Regions from separate parts of the Homo sapiens genome. Here region 1 is linked to region 2. Evidence: promoter capture Hi-C in 16 types of primary human blood cells and fetal thymus (Javierre and others, 2016). All regions are on one chromosome and are shown on one strand. Each heading gives the region's core, a stretch centred on a gene start or on the middle of the fragment in contact. The rest is flanking DNA. Distances are from core to core; before and after follow the strand shown. Region 1 overlaps THSD7A (thrombospondin type 1 domain containing 7A). Region 2 holds the start of THSD7A (thrombospondin type 1 domain containing 7A).

What was found. Contacts are between HindIII fragments. The CHiCAGO score rates a contact against its expected background, and 5 or more counts as called.
Region 1: a fragment that was not itself captured here is called in contact with the fragment with the promoter of THSD7A in region 2 in 1 of 17 cell types (endothelial precursors); the score reaches 8.3 in endothelial precursors.

The regions. Positions count from the first base shown.
Region 1 is chr7:11,571,144-11,577,815 of GRCh38, reverse strand. All of the region lies in intron 4 of THSD7A (thrombospondin type 1 domain containing 7A), which reads left to right. Among named protein-coding and RNA genes, the nearest start is that of THSD7A, 260 kb to the left of the region's middle. The HindIII fragment of the contact is 224 bases long and covers 1,752-1,975 here.
Region 2 is chr7:11,826,773-11,833,590 of GRCh38, reverse strand. It overlaps THSD7A (thrombospondin type 1 domain containing 7A), which reads left to right and starts at 1,393. Exons shown (of 28, transcript NM_015204.3): 1 at 1,393-1,834. The coding sequence starts at 1,645. RefSeq lists enhancers at 716-1,255, 1,256-1,796 and a silencer at 3,354-3,648. The HindIII fragment of the contact is 6,451 bases long and covers 1-4,009 here.

The DNA of each region.
Region 1 (6,672 bases), core at 614-3,113, 260 kb after region 2:
TTGTTAGGTTACTCTAAAACAGCACTTTCACCATTGCTCAAACTTGGAATGCCACGCTGTTCCATCTGCCCCTTATATCCCACAGGATTTCTGGGGATCTAAAATGCCCAGATAGGGAGCTTTATGCCTGGGAAAACTTAGCCCTTGTTGTTAAAATAATAATTATAGCAACTAGATACATAAAAACATAGGGTTTAGAGGCCAGCCATGGTGGCTCACACCTGTAACCCCAGGCCTTTGGGAGGCTGAGGCGGGCAGATCACTTGAAGCCAGGAGTTCAAGATCAGTCTGGTCAACATGGCGAAAATCCATCTCTACTAAAAATACAAAAATTAGCTGGGTGTGGTGGCACATGCCTGTAGTCCCAGATACTCAGGAGACTGAGGCACAAGAATTGCTTGAACCTGGGAGGCAGAGGTTGCAATGAGCCAAGATCACACCACTGCACTCCAGCCTGGGTGACAGAGCAGACTCTGTCTCAAAAAAATAAAAAGTAAATAAAATAGAGTTTAGAAAACACTTCTATTGTTTTATATGTGCTCAGCTAGATCTGTTTAGAAAGTCTTGGATCAATTAAGTTTCTAGTTCATTAAGAATCCCAGAAGTACTGTGAAAATACAGTTATGTTTTTAACTAGGAAAGCTATTGACTTATTTATCAAAGCCTTCTACAAATCTATAACAAGGGGGTAAGAAAAGTCCCCAACATATTGCGGTAGATAGTGTTTTCCCATTAATACATAACTAACCTGATAATTAGAGAATAATTTTCTCAGACATACTGAAACAGTCAGTGGCAAAACATGGACTCAATGCCTTGTTTTTGACTCTAAAGTGTAAACTCATTGCAAGCATACTCGCTTCCCCTATGCATTTGCTTCAGAATAAATGCCCTGGGTATAATAGCTGTCTACAAGTTTATCAAAATCATCAGAAGTGCATCCTATTAGCTGATAATGTTTCTGTTGCAAAAATAAACAAAAATGGCCTAGAAATCTACTTCTTATAAAAGAAAATTGAAGGGAAAAGTATAATGTAAGCCCTTTATAGGAGCCAACGCAATTAAGTTCATTCTGTGACATGATTCTATAAGGTCAATATGGAGTCTTGTTCACAGTTATTTGAACCAGCATTATGTTGAACCATATGATATTGCTATTTTTGTAGGTCAAGATCTGTCAATTAGTGGCAATTTCATACAGTTTAACTGAAAAGGTACCTTTGATGTATTATATCAAGTCACCTGGTATGAATTACTGTCTATCCCACACTTGACATTATCAGAATCAAATCCAGACCGGCTAGCTATGAATCGCAGTGACTCTTTCCATGTGAACAATATGCATTCGTGCTGTGTGCAGTGTCCTCTAGATAGGGCAATGATTGTCTTCTGTAAAAATATGTAGATTTCCCCATAGTAGATATTCTTTATGGGAAAATAACTCAAATTGATGGCTTCAGAGTGACTGGAATTCATCAAGCATTGTTTATGCGCAGTTAGAAAAGAAATTGCTTGCATTCAATGATGTGATTTTGAATATTATGTCCCACTTTATTGTCTATAAATACCGACAATAAAGGGAGATAAAGTAATTTTAAGAATAAATGGATGAGGAGTGTGGGGCAAAGGAAAAATGCTAGTAGAAAGAGGATATCAAACCAATAATGAATATAACAAGGATGATGCACAAAATGTGTATCATAAGATTCTGTGAATTTCTTGAAGTAGGCCACAACTTCTGGCTCTAAGCTTGTAATAGCCAATGTAGAAAGGAACACTGCATTAACCGTGAAATTTGCAGTGCCCATTAGGCAACAGAAACCAGTTGTAAATGAGAAGCACCATGATTTCTGGTTCTAGAGCCAGAAAGAAAATTCACCAGTGGGCCTTCATAAAAAAGACACTGTAACTGTGTTGAATTACAACTTATTAACATCTTTACAATAAACACCATAATGAATTTTATAAGGAAGCTTTTTCTTTAAGCAATTTTCTTATACATAGGCCACTAGTAGAAATATCAAAGTGTAATTCAGTAAAGGGTAATAAGTGGCGGTTGATATGATATGGTACAGATTTATAGGTCTCACTAAGCTGGATAACCCAAGGATAGACTTCGAAATGGATGTACTAAATGAATGGAGGTACAGCTATTCCCTCAGGCAATCCTCCTCTGAGCTTTGATAGAGGCAGAGAGTTCCGTTATATCCCCTGACACAAGTATCTGGAGTACAGCTCTTCTGCTTACTGCTTAGGTGCAGTTCAATGCAGAGACACAATTTCCAACCATCATTGCGGTGAGGATAGGATAAGCATCCTCAAATGGAAATTGAAAGGCTTGACAGGACATAATCTTGAATAAAATATTATCCCACTTCTACAGGGGATCCAGGCCTAACTAGATGCAGGGCAAAGAAAAAGTTTATCTAGGCACTGATAAAGGAAAATCAAAAGTCCTTAAATCTGTTTGCTGGCTTGTAACCCATAGCAAAAATCTGAAGCAGATGTAAGAAAGACCCAGTGTTAACAATAACGCCATCTCTTTAAAAAAGCAATTTTGCTTTCTAGTATTTCCTTCAAGAAAAAAATAATTACCAAGTTTCTGTCTATAGATCAAAATGCGTTAATTTGAAGTAGTAATAATAATGATGCAGAGGATGACGAGGATGATAGATGATTACTATATGTGAGACACTATTCTAAGTGTTTTACATTTATTTACTTATGAGACCCTCACTATAATCCTATGAGGTAAGCACTATTATTATATAATATGGACGTACAAAGAGCTTAAATAATTTTCTTAAGGAATATAGCTAGTAAACGTCATAATCAGGATTGTGAATCAGTCTGGCTCCAGAACCAGTGATCTTAACCACTGTGCTATACAGTATAGGGTTACTACTTGTAAGCCAGTTTTATGCTAGAGAAAAGCTATCTCACCTCTAAACGATTATTGGTTTTAGAAAATGTGCCTCTCTTTTAAATAGTGATTCAGTCTTATAGCTAATGGTCTATTAAGGTTACTCATATTTAATGACAATAAAACTGCACTTCACATGTATGATAATGTTTTTGTTGGCCGGGCGCGGTGGCTCACGCCTGTAATCCCAGCACTTTGGGAGGCCGAGGTGGGCGGATCACGAGGTCAGGAGATCGAGACCATCCTGGCTAACATGGTGAAATCCCATCTCTACTAAAAAAAAAAAAAAAATTAGCCGGGCGTGGTGGTGGGCGCCTGTAGTCCCAGCTACTCGGGAGGCTGAGGCGGCAGAATGGCGTGAACCCGGGAGGTGGAGCTTGCAGTGAGCCGAGATCGTGCCACTGCACTCCAGCCTGGGCGACAGAGCGAAACTCTGTCTCAAAAAAAAAAAAAAAAGTTTTTGTTTCCCTTTTCTATGACAGGAAGGTATCCATACATTTATTCATTGAACCAATGTTTACTGAGTGTCTTCTATGTCTTAGGCATTATTCTAAATGCTGAAAATAGAGAAATGAACAGCACAAACACTATTCCTGCTGTCACAAAGTTTACACTTTAATGGAAGGAGAAAAATTATATACCAAAAAATAAATAAGAAAATATCAAAGAGCAATAAGCACTATGCAGAGAATTAAAACAGGGTTATGTGAAAGAGAATAACTGGGTAATAATGTTATTTAGATCACCAGGTTTTGTTTGGATTCCGAGATTTATATATCTAGCCCAAAATTTTCCCCTGAGAAACAAATTTGCATTGATCTTTCTACGTGACGTCTCTAATCATAACACTCAGGTATGCTTGTTTTTCCTTCATATGCTCTTAAAATGACAAAATACATGTTTTTATAACATCAGAGTACACGTGTCTGAATAGTAGGAGCTCCATGATCTTGAATTGATTGAATAGATGTGTTCATATAAATTTCCTAAAACTACTTAGGGGAAAGATATTAACAGAATAGGTGACACATAATGTGTTCAGTAAATGTTTATTGAATAAGTAAATAAACTGACTCAGTAATAAACCCAAGCGTCAATAAATACGATTACAGACTAATCTGTACTCTTGCAAAATGCCTTTCTCTGATAGCCAGAGAGATGAAAGACCTAAAACTTGTATATTTAGGAATATATCACAAAGCCTAGGAAGTAAATAATTAAAATAATCAGAAAGCAAACATATTGTTAGGCTTCTGCTTCTATCCATAAGAGAATAAATGGAACCCTGCCATAAGAACAACTATAAAATTTAACAAATTATATAAAGCAGCTGTTTTTAGTCATTGGCCAACAAGCCAGAAGACCGTGATTACAGTTGTGAACTGAGCTTCAAAATTGCCTCCATCTGCTACTGGGAGCTCTTTCTTGCCACAGAGGGAGGTGAAGACAAGAATAGTGTCAGGTGTAGCTGAGCAAAGGAGTCAGAAATCTAAGTGCTGGGCTAGGAATTGGCTGGAAATTTTAGGACAAGGTACAGAGAAGGGGAATCTACACTGGAGGGAAAGGACAGAGTCCAAGAGTCTCAGTGTGGATACACCATGAATCCTTGGCCAGAGTTTGGCTGAATACATGTGGGGTGATACCCTGGAGTCTAGCAGAGGTCCTGTGGTGTGAGTTTGAGAACTGAAAGGTGATAGTATAGGTAGCACAGTGCTGAGTGATGCTGAGCTCCAGCCCTGTGAGAGTGAAGAATACTTGTTGAGCACCTCAGGTCTCAGAAAGACTATGGTCCCAGAAGGTCCACACTGTCACAGTGCAGTTCAAACTTAAAAAGAGCTAGCTCTAATGCAAATAAAATCAAACCTGAAAAGATCAGTAGGATCTGCCAATAATTAAACTGTTTGACAGAACAAAACTTAACACCTTATAAAGGAAGATGACATAATCGAGGTTCTCTACAATATACTGTTCACAAAGTTCAAAATATAATAAAAAGTTACTACACATGAAAAAAGGAGAAGAAAAAGACCCATTATTGACGGAGGGAAAAAGGCAGTCAGAAGAAACGTATCATGAGATGGCCTAGATATAAGAATCAGCAGACGAGGACTTTAATCCCAGCACTCTGGGAGGCTGAGGCAGGAGGATCACTTGAGCCCAGGAATTTGAGACCAGCCTGAGCAAAATAATGAGACCCGCCTCCAAAAAAAAAAATTAATTTGCTGGGCATGGTGGCTGGTGCCTGTAGTCCCAGGTATTCAGGAGGCTGAGGTGGGAGGATCACTGAGCCTAGGAGGTTGAGGCTTCAGTGAGCTATGATTGCGCCACTGCACTGCAGCCTGGGCAGCAAGTGAGACCCTGTCCCCCCAAAAAGAAACTACTAAACATATGTTCAAAGACATAAAGGAAAAGAGTGTCTTGGGGAGTGAACATATGCGAGTATGAAGAGAAAAACAGACATTATAAGGATGTGGAAATTCAAGAATGTACAAACTCTGCAATAAAAACTCACTGAGTGGGCTTAATAATTGAGGATTGCAAAAGGAAGGCTAAGTGATATTGAAGACAAGTCAATAGAAATTATTGGATCTGAGTAGAATAAAGCATTGTTGATCTTGAGGACAAATCAATAGAAATAGATCTAAAGAGAGAAGATTGGAGGGAAAACAAAGTAAACACAAGGTGGGACTCATGCCTGTAATCCCAACACTTTGGGAGGCCAAGGTGGGGACACTGCTTGAGCCCAGGAGTTTGATACCAGCCTGGGCAACATAGTGAGATGCCATTTCTATTAAAAGTAAAAGTGAACAGAGATTCAGTGATTAATGGAATAGTGTCATGGTGTCTAATAAATGTATTAATGATATTCCAGAGAAAGAAGGGAATGATCTGACAGAAAACATATTTGAAGAAATAATGGCCAAAAAAAAAATCTCAAATTCAGTTAAAAAAACATCAACTTAAAGATCCACAAAGCTCAGCAAACCACCAGCAGAATAAATACAAAGAGGACAACAGCAAAAATACCCTATACTCAAATTTCTGAAAGATAAAGAGAAAATTTTAAAGCAGCCAGAGGAAAAAAAAAAGATACAATACATACATGTGAATAAAGATAACGAACGAGGGTTGAAATCTCAGACAATGAAGTCTGCAAGACAATGAAATAGTGTTTGCTGAGAAAAACTGAACGACTACATTTGGTGAAAATAGTCTTCAAAAGTGAGCATGACAAACGGACATCTTCAGAGAAATGGTAACTGAGAGAAGTGGTTACTGAGCAGTTGTGAACATAGACTATGGAGATAGATTACCTGAGCCATGTGATCTTGGACAGGTTACTTAACTTCTTTAGAAAAATGGTAATAATAGAATTTTTAAAAATTTAAAATAGTCCATATACTGCACTTAGAACAAGGCCAGGCACATACTAAGCTCTCAACAAATCTGATCTAAAATATAAGGCACGGCCAATGATTTAGCAAGAAGTATGAGATGAAATTCAGCAGTAGCTCAACAGGGGAAAACATGCCCACAATTACAGCTTAGAACTTGGGGAATGAGTAAGTAAATGAGAACATCATGTTCCTCAGAATAACATCGTAATTTCCTTTCAGAAAATAAATCAAGGATCTGTGGAACCTCCACCATCTCCTCAGTTCCAGAGAGCCTCATATAGTGGAACCAAAACTTATGGTCTGGAAGAGAAATCAGCTTCCCTTCTCATATTTGTGCCTTCCCATATCTGT
Region 2 (6,818 bases), core at 144-2,643:
ACCTGGGAATTATTTGATCAAACCCGCTTTTAATCTAATGCATGCAGAGGGGCTGTGTCTGGAAGGCTTTGCAAAATGACAAGGGTCCCAAGGGAGCCTTATGGAAGGTTTCCTCTTTCAGAAAGAGTAGCTTCCTCATCTTAAACTCTAGGGTAGCTATGTTGGAGTAAATTCATAAAAAGTAGTTTTCCTGCTTTTAAAATTTTATTTTATTTGGCTGAAAATTGCTGATGGGATAGTAGTTTTCTTTGGCTTTCCGTTTGCTGAATTTTTAATGGTTAAATGCCTACTATTTTAGCTTTACTGTGAAATGAATTAATAATAAAATATATTATTATTAGCTAAAGGGAGAAGGAGAAAGGGGAAAGCATTATCCGACTTCACACACATTCTTCTATTACTACTGGTAGAAGAAAGTGAAAACACAAAGGACAAAAGATGCAAACACATGTGGTTCCTTATTTAGATTGCGACAGGCATTTTGCTACAGTAAGAGTTAAGAAAAATCGGTGTCAGGGAAATTTTAAATGAAGAATTTACTAATTCCAAGATATCCAGACAGCATTACTGACTCAGTTTGACTCACAACTATCTGAATACTTAGAAGTAGCATATTTTTGAGGGAAAGAAGTAGATGAAGGGACAGAACTCTATACCTGAAATATAATTTTAATTTTAAGGGTTTTTTTTTTGTACAATTGTATTTATGTAATTAGGTAGCATTGCAAATACTCATTAACACTAATTCAGTTTTAAAGGCTATTAAAAGACAATTTAATTTGTCACAGAGCATCAATATTGCTCATATTTTTATTGATAATAGATTAAGTTAAAAACAACATTTAAAGAAGGGTTTAAGTGCATTTTGACAAGTCAACATTTCTGCTCTCGTGTTTTCACACCTGATCTCAAATACTGCTCCCCACACAAAGTAATTCAGAAGCCATGGCTTAAAAATAGATAATAAACACTGATGCTTTGTGTAAATACGTACTAAGAATAGCATGCCACTAGATCTAGCATTTGACTCCTTGGATGACAGTGAATATCAATGCCTGTTATTTGTCATTCTGAAATCTGCCGGGTGATGATTCTTTTTATTGGTGCATCCTTCCAAACATATTTCATCGCACCATGTGCACCGGAGTTCTTTAGGCGGGTATGTCGGAGGTGGGTGTCGCCTGGCTGGCCCCTCTCCCCTTTGCTCGCCCCCTTTCTCGCCCTCGCGCTCTCGCCTCCCTCTGCCTCCAGCCCCCTCTGCTCCTTTGGGCTCACGCCCCCCTCCTCCCCCTCCAGCTGGCGGGGGCTGCGCTGCCTCCCAGACCTAGCAGACCTGCTCAGTCAGCTGGGGCCCCCTGAGGACAGTTGCCTCCGGAGCCGCCGGGACCTGCCATTCTGCGAGGAATGGCAGCGGCAGCAGCATCCCCGCCAGAGGCGGCGGCGGCGGCGGCAGCGGCCACGGCCACCACCGCGGACGCTATTGTTCCCTGGTGTTAGACGCGCTCTCCCTCCTTCTCATCTGAAGCGAACAATAGCAGGAAAGAGCTTTGCTTTCTGTACTCTTTGAAAAGACGTTCCAAGAGCGGAGAAAAATTCCCTGCCGAGCGTGCTACGGCTCTGGACCCTGGAGTGGCTGCAGGCGGCATGGGGCTGCAAGCCAGGCGCTGGGCGTCCGGGAGCCGGGGCGCTGCGGGGCCGCGCCGGGGCGTCCTGCAGCTGCTGCCGCTGCCGCTGCCGCTGCCGCTGCTCCTGCTGCTGCTGCTACGCCCGGGCGCCGGCAGGGCTGCGGCGCAGGGCGAGGCGGAGGCGCCCACCCTCTATCTGTGGAAGACTGGTAAGTGGGACGGAGTTACCCTTTCCCCATCTTCACATCTGGGGCCACATTAAGGAGCTGGTGGGCTTCTGTAGGGACCCCGGTGCTTTTGGATGGCTTGGTTATGCTGGTATCCTAAGGTAAAAAGTATGATTTCTTAGGAAGCAAATAGGTCATGTCCGATGCAATTAGGAAAGAAAAGCATAACAACTAAGAGGCAACAGTGAGTAGCTGGAATATTTCTCTCGCAGCTCTGTAATGAGGGCAACGCGCACTTCCATGATGAAGTGCATTATTTTTAACCCCTGGATTTTCATTCTACTAGGAGTTTCTCAAACAGATTTCTAGCAAAGAACAAGCAAAGAGTTTAGTCTCAGTCTTTATTCTTTAGGCAAAGCAATATGCTCACTGTCATGACATTTGTGGATATAGAGTTGAATTTGTTAACTTTAGCTTTGTGATATGTGGGACACCTCAGAAACAAGCCAAGTGAGGGCGGTTCCAACAATTAAAGGCAAATGGGGCTCCAGTGAGCCTTCAGGGAAAGACTGAAAACTCAATTATTAACTAGCGAGTCGGAGGATTTTTAAAGTGTACAACTTTTAGGATGTCTGGGTTCAAACTTTCTCTTCCTTCCTTGAGAATTGTTTTGCTTTGTTTTTCAACCACCCAACAAAAGCAGCTACTAACTGCCCATCATTACCCATTGGCAAAATGCTTGGAGTTTCTGGCGGGGGCCGTGACAGGCAGGAAAACAATACGGAGTGAGGAATTACCAACCCCTTTTCTGCGGGTTCGCTTTCTCTCTGCATTAAAAAAACATTGAGAATTCCTTAGGGGACCTGAAACTTCACATGTTCATAGGAATAAAATGGGAAAAGATTATTCCTGTTGCTTAGAGCTAGGGGGTAATTTAAGAATAACTTGGTCATGCCAAACATTAAGAGAATGTTGTAGTTGAAAGGGAAAGTATGTATTCGTCATGGGGTTGCAAACAGGTTTCAGGGAGTGAGTGTCTTTTCCTGCTTCAGCCCATCTCTGCACCACTACTGAAGAGACAGCTCAGTCTACTCTACAATTGCATCACTATCGATATCTGGAATTTTTAAAGAAGTTGCAGCTATCCAGAAATTTAGTGAGGAGATTAAACAGAAATTTATTTAAAGTCAAAGTACACAATTTGTCTTAGAAGATTACATGAAACATATACACATTTTAAAAAGCAAGATTATTCTTGCTAACACCTTAAGTTTGAAGATCAGTTGAGTAATGAATTCAAATGAAATAAAATTAATTTACTTCAATTTGAAACGAAGATTTGAAGATCTCTAATTTAGCGTAAGCTAGGGTTTTACTTGTTAAAAGCACATTCATAATGACAAACATTAATCAAATTATAATTTACCATTAAATGGTATCATATGGATGCTTGGGGAGAGCTTCTTAGGTAAGTCAGTGTAGGATGAAATAGTAGTTGCCTAGTTGAAATTTATACTAGCAAAGTAACAAGAGCCAAGCAATAATTCAGATGGAAAAGAGCCCAGCCAACATTCACTGTACAGCATCTGAGGTGTCAATATATGTCATCATAAATGTCATGGTAGGAACACAAGCCAATAAACAGTTTAAAATAGTGGGAAGCTCTCAGAAACAATGATATGGAGACCTTGATTCCAGTGCCAGTCCTAGCTCTTGCTAGCTGTAGGAATTTTGGCAGTTCACTTAAATTTTGACCCTTAGTTTTCTCAACTGCATGTAAATGTGATGACACCTTCTTCTGCCTATCTGCAGTGTGTGAAAATCACATGAGTTATGAGAAAGTGATTGGTAAACTTCAAAGCTGTATGCAAATGTAAGCTAGTGTGATGAGGATGTTAAAGATATTTCTTGACTGGTGATCCTTGGTTTGGTAAAAAAAAAAAATAGTTCATTCAATTGGAAAGCAAAATAATGACTTCTTTATTTTTTTTTTTTTACCAAAGGGAAAGGAGACTTTAATATATCTGTAAAGGAGTTGAACGTAGTTCTCAAAAGAACTAGAGAATATTTAAAGAAAAAAGATATACCATAAATGAAAATTTAGAAGTTACAGAATCACTATGTGTGTATCACTTGATGAAAATAAAGAGGCAAGAAGGGAATTGGAAGAGAAAAGAGGTGACATACTCCAAAATATCTGTTCCAATGGGGTAAGCTTGGTCTTGGTACAGAGGATTATAGAGAATCATATTAATGGTGAGATTATTGAATTAAAATGATGTAGTGAAAGTTGTTACACTGGATGAAGATCTGGGACAGGAACTCAAACTGTGTATGTTACTAACATGCTGTAGAACTTTGGTAAAGTCATTAATGACTTTGGTTCTTGGCTTCCTATTTTGTAATACTCATTAAATAGATAAAATGATATCTAAGGGCCTTTTTAACCCCTAAAGGGCTTCATATATATGAATGCATATGTCAGATACATATATTATAAATACACACATAAATACATATATACAACAAATAAGGGTATATAAAGTTGACCCTTGAACAATGCACAGATTAGGGGTCCTGACCTACATGCACAGTGGAAAATTTATGTATAACTTTTGACTTCCCCAAAACTTAACTACTAATAGCCAACTATTGATCAGAAGCCTTACAGATAACATGAACAGTCAATTAATACATATTTTATATATGTATTATATACTATATTGTTACAATAAAGTAAGCTAGAGACAAGGAAATGACATTTGGAAAATCACGAGGAAGAGACAATATATTTACTATTCATTAAATGGAACTGGATCATCATAAAGGTCTTTATCTTCATCGTCTTCACATTGAATAGGCTGAGGAGGAAGAGGAAGATAGATAAGGGGTTGGTTTTGTTGTTTGAGCAGTGGCAGAGGTGGAAGAAAATGCATGTAAGTTGAACTGCCCAAATCAAATCATGTTGTTCAAGAGCCAACTGTACACATGTGTGTATACATATAATATATACATGAATAATACTTATTACTTATACATTATATGTAATGTTAAATATCTATCTATCTATCTATCTATGTGCTTTATTAAGTCAACTCACAACAAAGAGTTTTTGAGGAGCTAAAATATGTAACCACTGTGGTAAAAGCTGAATGGGATACTGCCATCCCTGCCATTGAGAAGCTCACAATTAACTTTTTTAAAAAAATTCTTATTCAACTGATTACAGGCTTTAGGAGATACTCACAATTAAACAACACTATAAGTACACAATTACAACATGGCATACCATACACATGAACAGAACATTATAAGAACAAAGAAGTTATTTGGCTGATAAAGGAGGTGTGAAGGGTCGCAAAGATAATTTAATATATGATCTGGGTCTTGAAGGATGAGGTGGATTTTGACTGAGGAAGGAGTAGAAGGCCATTCTAAGCAGAGAGAAGGAAAAAAATAAAAGTGAAAAGGCACAGCAGCTTTCCTAGATCTTGAAAGTCCCAGTAGTACACAGCACCTCAAGCCCAGGATGTGGGATAGCAATGAAAAGATTTCATGCCAATCCAGTGAGTTAGGACCAGATTATCAATAAACTTTCAAACAATGGTAAGATATTGGACTTTAACTTATAAGTAGGTGGTAGCCACTGTAAACTTTGAGCAGAAGAGTGATATTTTGTTTGTCTAGAATGAAGAGAGATGAGTTTAGAAGCTGGAAGGCCAGTGACGTGAGTCGTTGACTGAGAGGCAAAGGGAAACAGAACTCCGACAATAGAAGTTATAGTGAAGAGTGAGTAGAAGAGGGCTTGAGGTCACACTGAAGCAATGTTAGCTTAGATTTAGGGTGCAGAAGACACAGTGCCTTCCAGGGAAAGTAGGAAAATGCCATCAAGGTTTTCATCATGCCTGTAGTCAGTAAAGGAGGTACAGGGTATGAAAAAAGGAAGAACAGATTGCTTAGTGTTGTGAAGAAGAATATCAATTTAATTCAGATATACTGAGCTTGAGGTAGCAATGACATATTTAGACCAATATATCTCATGGGAAAATTAGTGAATGGGTGACTCAGTTTAGGAGAAGGAGTTAGGCTGAAGATGTAAGCATGGAACTCAATAAATGTATATTTCAAGCCATGGGAGTGGGAGGGATCATTAAAGCAAAGAAAATATTGAAAAGAAGAGCCAGGATATTTCACAGAGAATATTGGGATATAAAGGGCCACAGTGGGAGAAGACCTAGAGAAACAGTCTAAGAAAGTATGGCCAGAAAAGGTACAAGGCAAATGACAAGATACACTAGATGAAGACGGTATTTTATAAAGGAGATTGTGGCAAAAAGTATTTTAAAAGTTTAGAAAGGCTAGGAAAGGAATTCTAAAATATTTTAGAAAATATCAAGTATGAGGACTTGGTAAGATAATTCACAGTGTTTTGGGAAACGACATTTTAGGTATAGAGGTAGAGATATAAACTTGATTGAATAAAAAACAACATGGTAGAAAAGATACAGTATCAATAAAGTTGAATAACTAAGTGGTATGTAAGTCTCTCTACTACAATGTTGTTGTTTTATGAGGAGGAAAAGCCCAGAATTTCAGATATTAAAAATTATTTATTAAAATATAAAAGTCTGTTGGGCATGGTGGCTCATACCTGTAATCCCACAGCTTTTTAGAGGTCAAGGTGGAAGGATTGCTTGAACCTAGGAGTTCAAGTTTACAGTCAACCATGACTACACCATTGTACTCCAGCCTGGGCGACAGAGCAAGATCCTGTCTCTAAAAATTAATTAAATAAATAAAATATAAAAGTTAAAATTTTCAGCACTTTTGTATCACAGTCATTTCAAAGTTAACTTATCTTTGTGTGAATAATTGGGAAGCATTTCATACACACAAGAGGCATAGCATTTATATTACTGAAAGATGAATAACTAATGTTACTAATAAGTGTTAATGGCATTTGCATTTTTTTTTTTTTTTTTTTTTGAGACAGAGGCTCACTCTTTTTGCCCAGGCTGGAGTACAG